Regions from separate parts of the Homo sapiens genome. Here regions 1 and 3 are each linked to region 2. The links are contacts of gene promoters, found by promoter capture Hi-C in human tissues and cell types (Jung and others, 2019). All regions are on one chromosome and are shown on one strand. Each heading gives the region's core, a stretch centred on a gene start or on the middle of the fragment in contact. The rest is flanking DNA. Distances are from core to core; before and after follow the strand shown.

Region 1 (2,814 bases), core at 256-2,755, 180 kb before region 2:
CTCCACCTCCTGGGTTCAAGTGATTCTCGTGCCTCAGCCTCCCTAGTAGCTGGGATTACAAGCATGAGCCACCATGCCCAGCTAATTATGTATTTTTAGTAGAGACAGGGTTTCTCCATGTTGGTCAGGCTGGTCTTGAACTCCCTACCTCAGGTGATCCGCCCACCTCAGCCTCCCAAAGTGCTGGGATTACAGGTGTGAGCCACCGGGTATCCATAACAAAAAGAGAGAGAGAGAGAGAGAAACTTGATCTATAATTAAAATTCAAAAGTTAAAAAGAAAAACAACGAACTCATGTTGTCAGCCAGCCCATATCTATCTCACATAGTTGGAACAAGGACTGGACATGTGCAATAAACACTATCATTTATAGGGTGGAAGAAGAGGAAGAACACTACACTCACTGGGCCACAGCATACCAAGATCCTGGCAGGGAGATATTTTGAGCTCCCTTGATCTAAGGGTAGTTTTTACCCCTGAAGAGGCCGGTTTCTGCTCTCTGACCATAGCTATCCATGCCAGATCCTCAGTTTTTCCTTATCTTGTCTGACTTCATTTGTAGGGCCATTAGGGGTTATGGCTTTCTGGGGGTCTTACCATCTATTACACCCTACGTGGGATTCTGGTGGTCCAAGTTCATTATTTTTATGCAAACAAAGACTCTTTTCCTCAGTTCAAGCTTTTATAGTTCTTTTTTTGTGTGTGAGTTTTCTAGTGTACACACACACTCACACACAGACCATTTAAAAATCTATTTGATTGCATTTAGCTCCAAGCGTAATTAAACCTCTCCTCAACTCATTCTGGCTATTCTTTCTTTTTTTTTTTTTTTTTTTTTTTTTTTTTTTTGAAAAGGGGTCTTGCTCTGTTGCCCAGGCTGGAATGCAGTGGCGCTATCTCGGCTCACTGCAAGCTCCGCCTCCTGGGTTCATGCCATTCTCCTGCCTCAGCCTCCCAATGGGACTACAGGCGCCCGCCACCACGCCCGGCTAATTTTTTGTATTTTTAGTAGAGACGGGGTTTCACCGTGTTAGCCAGGATAGTCTCAATCTCCTGACCTCGTGATCCGCCCGCCTCGGCCTCCCAAAGTGCTGGGATTACAGGCATGAGCCACCGTGCCCGGCCCATTCTCGCTATTCTTTCTTTTTCTCATCTTAATTAAAATATCTTGAGTTTACTAGTTGGCTGGGACACAACACTCGCCACCTCGCCACACTTGTTTTTTGTTTTTTTTTTTCTGGAGCAGTTTAGCCAACTGAAAACAATTTCAATCCAATCACTGATGTAAACCGAAGGTATGAGAGCCATAACCCAGGTTCGATTTTTGCTTTTTTACAAATATGCTTTTCAGGGGTAGAAATTCCATGCTATTAGGCTGTTCTTAAACTTTTCCATTAGAAAAATGCCATAGGAATGCAGAAAAGGGTGTGGTAATTCCGCCTGGGGAATTCAGGAAGAGCGAGAGAGAAGCTACAGCCAGGCCCCTCAACACAGCCAGGGCCTTTCTCATGGCTGCCTGGCCAACTCGCCTTCCACTCTCCGGAGAAGCTGCTTTAACCTTCTCCTCTTTCCCCCAACTCCTACTCCTCCAACTCCCCGCTCACTCAGTCTTGCCTCCTTCCTCAGAGAAAGTTAAAACTATCAGATGGGACACCCTCAAGCTCAGGTCATCCTCCTCATGTAGATTTTTAACCCCTTACAGCTCTGCATAGCCATAAGCTGACCCCATCTCCCACCCTTCCTCAGCCTTCCTAGTGTGTCTTCTGGAATTTGCAGTGCACCCCTACACAAACCCACTGTGCCCTCCGCCTTCACTCTGAATATTCCCTTCACCTTCTTGCCTTGCAGGAAAACTGGCTGATGCCTGCAGGCAACCCTTCCCCTATGGCCTCCTCAAATGAGGGCTATTTTCCCTCTCATGATCCTCATTCCAGTTGGCCTGAGATAGGGGTAGCTGTCCTCCCTTCCGGTCCTCCATAAACCCCCAGCCTTTTTGAAACAATTGACATTAGGCCACACCCTGCCTCTTTGTCACAGTCCTCTTCAGGTCTCTTCCTCATTCACTAAGTATTCTGGTCACGGCTAACTGTGTCTCTCTGCCACTGCCCCATCATCATTCTTCATACCTTCCTAGCACCCTGGGATCTGTGCAAACGATCCATCCAACACCTCAACTCCCAGCATGACAATCTCCCCCAATGTCCCAGCCTCCCTTGCAGCTAGGAGTAGCCATGTGACCCATTTCAGTCAAATGGGATGGAAGTCAAAATCTGAAAGGAGGGCTGGTTTCTATGAAAGCATTGCCTTCCAGGGTGTATGCAGCTTCCCTGGGTTAATGAGCCTGTGTAAACGGGAGAACAGCACAGTCATTGGCCCTGACACAACTGAACCAATGACCCTACACCAGCAGCCACCTATCTTCAATCTACTTCAGCCACTCTGGTCCAATTTCCTGCCTTCACAGCTGAAAGAATTCCTAATAATTTCTCATCAATACTGCCTGTCCCTGGGTCCCATCCTCAAGCCACTCACCCTCCTCTTTTCACCCCTGTTCCTGCCCAAATCCTAGTGTGTCTAAGGCTGCTAGTTATTCCTCAATATCCATTCTCCCCTTCTCTCTTTTGTAACAGAACCCTAAAATTGTCACAGAGCCGACCCCGGACCCAGCTACTGCACTGCCACAGTCCTCTTTCTCCCCAACGCTGTTTTTCTATCAGCAGCTTTTCATTTAATCTCTGTCATTTCCAACCAAGTACAAACACACTGCAACATCTCCTGCAATATTCTGATGTTAACAAAACATCAAACACCCTT
Region 2 (2,750 bases), core at 97-2,596:
AATAAATTCACATTAGGCAGAGCCTCCTGCTTGCCTCAAAGTGTCTAGCCCTATGGGTCCCTCCATGGAGGGAGGGGCTGAGAAGGGCCGCCGCGGTGGGGACGGCTCTCACCCGCAGGAATGCCCCCGTCGGGATCGCCCGTGCCCTCTTCCAGGAAAGGCAGTCTGCCAAGGAACCACTTCGAAGGTGCTGAGGCCAAAAAGCCTCGGTGCTCACAGAGACGGCGTCAGTTGTCCCTTGTCACTTGGGCTCCTCAGGCAGCCACTCCAGAGGCGAGAGGGGCATCCAGGTCTCCAACAGAGCCAGCACGTCGCCCGGAAGGAGCTGTAGGGAGAGACGGAACAGCGCAGCCCTCAAGCACTGGTGGCCTTGTGCGGGTGTCCGCGCTCGTGGGCTCCACTCTCAGGGGGCCCCTAGCGAGGGGAGACCCAGTCCTCTGCGTGGCCTTTCCCTGCCTTCGCTTCTTGGAGCCCTGGGCATACTATGGTGGCCAGGTGGCCAGGCTGCCGGCGGGGAGCAGCAGGGTGCCTGGTCCTCACCTTGGCGGGCGGTGGGGCTGTGCGCGGGGGCACGGACGAAGGGGGCGCGGGGAAGGGGACACTAACCGGGGACGGTGGGCTTGGCTCCATCGCCTGCCCTTCAGGGCACGCCGCCTCGGCGAACAGCGCAGGCGGGTCGCGCGGCTCGGGTGCAGCTCGGGCTCCGGGGCAGGCAGGCGGGGATCCCCAGGACGCCCCGGCGCGGACGGCGGATACCAGGCCCAGCCCGCGCCCCTGCCCCTGCCCCTCAGCCTGCGTCCGTGTCTGCATCTGCGCGGGGCAGTCGTCGGGGCACAGCGGGCAGCCCCGAGGGGACCCCGCGTCACCGCGCTGCCGGCACCGGCGCTGGAGACTCTCCTCGCTGAGGCCTAGCACGGCCGACAGGTGGCCGATATAGCGGATAGCCAGGCGCAGCGTCTCGATCTTGGTCAGGCTCTGGCCCGCGGGCGCCACGGACGGCGGTAGAAAGCGGCGCAGCTCGTGCAGGGCGCGGGCCAGCGTGCGCATGCGCAGTTTCTCCCGCTCACTGGCGCTCTGCCTCTGCCCGCTGCCCAGGCGGCTGCTGCGCGCGCCGCGCCTACCTACGGAGGGGGCGCGGGGGTCCCGGAGGGTGCCTGGCCGCGCGGGGCTCGCCACGGGGCTGTCGGCTGGGGTGCTGCCCCATGAGTCTGGGGACGAGACGAGGGAGCGGCCGCAGTCCTTGTCGGAGGGCGGCGGCCGCCGAGTTGGGCCCCAGGCCGCAGAGAGCATCCAGGACTCGGAGAGCGGCGGGCACAGGGGCTGGGCCATGGCAGCGGCGGCGCGTCTGGGGGCCGGCGGCCGGCGGCCGCTTTATGCCGAGCCCGAGGTGTGAAGTGGCCCCTTCCAGGCCGCATCAGCACATCAAAGTGGGCTCGGGGCTTGGAGGGGGCGGAGCCTGACCCTTTGAATCCACGGCGGGGGGCCAAGGTGCCAGCCCCTTGACTGCGCCTGTTTCGCCCCACCTGGGCCCTCGCTTGGGCGCCCGACCCAGCCTCTCGGCCTTCCCGCCTGCGCCCAGTGTTGGGTGAAGCCCGGGGCGTTGGGCCAGCCCTGCAGGTTAAAGGAAGCGGGGTCAGAAAAACGAAATCTAGATCCTAGGTTTGGGGCCTGCCTTCACCTGTTGGGGACCTTATGCAAATTCTTAGTTCTTTTGCACCTTAGCTTCCAATTTGTATAATGAGAGCCTCAGGGCATGCGCCAATTGGACAGTGGAGTAGAGTAAGGACCAGGAGCAGGGACCCTCATTCCCTCTAAAGGTGGAGAAAACAGTAAACCACTTCTCCTTTGAGGCAGGATGGCCCTGGGTAGACCCTTCCCTGGTAAGAACATGTGGACAGTGCAAGGAAGCTTGCACCCCGGCAAATTCAATAAGCTGCCGAGTCTGGTCAGGATGCTGGACCTTCTGAGCAGAGGGAGGGGGTTAAGCCTGCTCCAACCCCAGGCCACCTCTAGCCTGGCAAGGTCTGGAGCTTGGCCTGTTGCCACAGCTGTCACCACTGGCCTTTACCTGATGTTCTGCCGCTATTGGACAGGTATAACAGGTTTTCCCAATGAAATGTGAGTGGAAATGACGCAGCAAAGGCATTTGACAAAATCCAACACCCTTCGTGATGAAAATTCTCAGCAAACTAAGAATAGAGAGGAATTTCATCAACCTGATGAAAGGCTCCTACAAAGAACCTACAGGTAGCCTCATACTGAGTAGTGAAAGACTGAAATCTTCCCCCCACCCCCCGATTGCAGGAACAAAGCGAGGGTGTCTCTCTTACCACTCCTATTCAACATTGTACCAGATGGAGGATCTAGGCTATGCAATTAGGAAACAAAAGACATACAGGTCAGAAAGGAAGAAATAAAACTCTTTTCGCAGGTTATGGCAGCTCTGGGCCCTGCTGCGCATGAGCCTGACCAATTTAAAGCGGAATCCTGGCTCCAGGAAACCCATGAGACGACCAAAAGGTCGGAGAAGAGGTAGAAAATGCGGCAGAGGCCATAAAAGAGAAAGGCAGAGAGGAAACTGGCTCTGCTGGGCTTTGGGGATGGCCAGACTCTATTTTACATCGGAATCCCAAAATACAGATTTAATGAAGGACTTAGCTTCAGACACCAGTATCAACCTTTAAGTATCAATAGACTGTAATATGTTACTGATTTGGGTCGTGTTGATCCTACTCAACCTATTGACTTAA
Region 3 (2,854 bases), core at 334-2,833, 210 kb after region 2:
GTGACCCTCCTGCCTCAGCCTCCTGAGTAACTGAGACTACAGGCGCATGCCACCATGTCCAATTAATTGATATTTTGTGGAGACGGGATCTACCTATGTTGCCCAGGCTGGTTTCCAATTCCTGGGCTTGAGTAATCCTTCCACCTCAGCCTCCCAAAGATTATAGGCGTGAGCCACTGCACCTGGCCAATTTTTTTAATTAAAGGAAAATATAACAATAAAAACAGATAATTAAGGATACGTGAAAGGAAACCAGAAAGCTTGAAAGGTTTGAAAGGATAAACGAGAAAATGAAACCATTTAGTAAGGAAAAATAATTCGGAACAATACAAATCAGAACGGTAAGATATACTAAAATAGGCCAGGTGTGGTGGCTCGTGCCTGTAATCCCAGCACTTTGGGAGGCTGAGGCGGACAGGTCATCTGAGGTCGGGAGTTCAAGACCAGCCTGACCAACATGGAGAAACCCCGTCTCTACTGAAAATACAAAATTAGCCAGGCATGGTGGCACATGCCTGTAATCCCAGCTACTCGGAAGGATGAGGCAGGAGAATAGCTTGCACTCGGGAGGCAGAGGTTGCGGTGAGCCGAGATTGTGCCATTGCACTCCAGCCTGGGCAACAAGAGCGAAACTCCATCTCAAAAAAAAAAAAAAAAGAGAGATACTAAAATAATCTAAAAGAATCAGCTAAGATATTAAGAGTAATAGTCAGGCACGGTGGCTCATGCCTGTAATCCCAGCATGTTGGGAAGGCCAAGGCGGGAGGATTGCTTGAGCCCAGGAGAGTTTGAGACCAGCATGGGCAATATGGAAAAACCCTGTCTCTACAAAAAATACAAGAATTAGCCAGGCATGGTGGCATGTGCCTGTAGTCCCAGCTACTCAGGAGGCTGACATGGAAGGATCACTTGAGCCCAGGAGGTCAAGGCTGCAATGAGCTATGATCCCGTGCCACTGCACTCCAGCCTGGGCAACAGAGTGAGACCCTGTCTCAATAATAAAGAAAAAAAAAAGAAACCACTAGAAAGCATTCAAGTGGGGAGCCTTACCCAGGCCTTGCAGACAGGAGGCCCCGGCTAAGGCCCAGAGCATTCTCTTCATCACGGGGCCCTTCACGGGGTTCCCTGAGAGGGAGATCACAGCTCTTTGGCAACTTTGTGGCCACCCAGCAGTCAAGGCTTCACCTTCTGAGTTCTTCCACCCTATTTCAGTCACATGGGCATTTGCCTAACACCCTGAGGACCGCAAACTCTTCAAGGGCCAGTGCTGGGCTGCCACATGCTCATGTTCCTGCTTTATCTATAACTTCCCCATTGCTTGCCTCTGACCACCTTGAGCCCTTCCAGGCTCCACATCTGGGCATCTTCAAATCAGGCCTGCAGTCCAGGCCCCTGTGCAGACTGAGCAAGTCACCTCACCCATGTGAGCCTCAGCTGCCACCCCACTTTAGGGAGGTTAGTTACGCAGATCAATCAGATGATGTTTGCCAAGTGCTGGGCACACAGTAGGGCAGTTAACAGATGTCTAGGGAGGAGGTGACTATGACTGGCATTCCATCCTGCAAGTATGGCATGTAAAATGTAGCACAGAAATTCAGGATTCTACCCTGCCCAGGTTCCATGTGCCCACTGCTCTGCCCTCCCACAGTGACAGACCTCTCATAGCAGCAACTGCCCTTGGCCTACAGATCAAAGAATGCCATGGACTGCCGCATGCTAACCCCAGGACAGCCAAGGAGACTTCTTGGGCAGGAGAGAATGGGATTCTGCAAACACAGAGGGTACCCTGAGACTGGCAGTGAGCCCTCAGCAGTCCCCCTCCCTACGCACACCCTAGACCCCAGAATATAGGTCCCTGGCTGAGCCTTCGGCGGGCTCTGTTGGGGCCCTGAGTTGTCCGTGGGACACGCACTGGTGGTTATCAGTTAATATTAGGGCAATGCTCCTCCCTAAATTACAAATGAGCCCTCAAACTTATAGCTGTGTTCAGCCCAGGAATGGCATTGCTGGTAAGATCAACAAAGTTTGTCTGGGAGTGAGAGTACTGTTTCTCAAACTGTAATATGTACATGATCATGGAGGATCTTGTAAAAATGCAGATTCTAATTTAGTAGGTCTGAGTGAAGCCTGAGATTCACATTTATAAGAAGCTCCTGACTGATCCTGCTGCTGCTGCTGCCCCAGGAATCACACTTTGACTGGCAAGCTGCTAGACAATGCCCCCATACCTATGAAATCACTGGACTGGAAGGGACTCCAGAGACCACATTTCCTGCTTCCCATTGAGGACAGTAATTCTTCCTGCAGCATTTCTGATGGTGGGACAGGGCCTGGCATGCACCAGGTGCTAAGTAGATGTTAGCTGGCCTGAAATAAAATTATTTCCAGGAACAGGAAGCTCTTCTGGTACAGGCAGCTCTCTCATGGTTAGAAAGCTCCTTCTGTTGAGCCAACACAGGCTCTCTTAAAGTGCCACCCACTGGCCTTGGCACACCCCACACCGCTCCATCCACCGGGCACTGTGGCAAAGTGCCAAGGTCTAACAAAATGTTTGCAACCTAAAAAACAACCAACAAGAAGACAGAAAAGATTGACTCCGAAAAATAAAAATGGCACAATCACAATAAATGTTAACTGTCTGCAAAATGTAACACTTGCCAAATAGGCAATGGCAATGTGACTGTTATGTTGTTAGATATAGATTCTATTTAATTGTGGGTACAGATGCATTTTAACATGCTTCGTGTGACCTGGGGTGGGGCCTCCAAAAGTAAATGTGTCTGTGGACCTCAAAGATCTTAAATGTCCCTGTACCATCTTCCTCAGACTCTTAGAAGTCAGCAGTTGTGACCCC

What was found. The method cuts DNA at HindIII sites, captures the fragments that hold promoters and counts their contacts. A contact is called where the count stands out against the background at its distance.
Region 1: a contact is called between a fragment that was not itself captured here and the fragment with the promoter of MESP1 in region 2, in 1 of the 25 tissues and cell types used here (hippocampus).
Region 3: a fragment that was not itself captured here is called in contact with the fragment with the promoter of MESP1 in region 2 in 1 of the 25 tissues and cell types used here (liver).

Annotation. Positions count from the first base shown.
Region 1 is chr15:89,564,895-89,567,708 of GRCh38, forward strand. No RefSeq gene overlaps it. Among named protein-coding and RNA genes, the nearest start is that of TICRR, 9.2 kb to the right of the region's middle. The HindIII fragment of the contact is 8,051 bases long and covers 1-2,814 here.
Region 2 is chr15:89,749,903-89,752,652 of GRCh38, forward strand. MESP1 (mesoderm posterior bHLH transcription factor 1) reads right to left here and starts at 1,347. Exons shown (of 2, transcript NM_018670.4): 1 at 607-1,347; 2 at 1-325. The coding sequence starts at 1,329. The coding sequence ends at 242. It also overlaps the pseudogene MRPL15P1. RefSeq lists silencers at 618-907, 968-1,397. The HindIII fragment of the contact is 13,666 bases long and covers 1-2,750 here.
Region 3 is chr15:89,962,287-89,965,140 of GRCh38, forward strand. No RefSeq gene overlaps it. Among named protein-coding and RNA genes, the nearest start is that of ZNF710, 38 kb to the right of the region's middle. The HindIII fragment of the contact is 7,091 bases long and covers 1-2,854 here.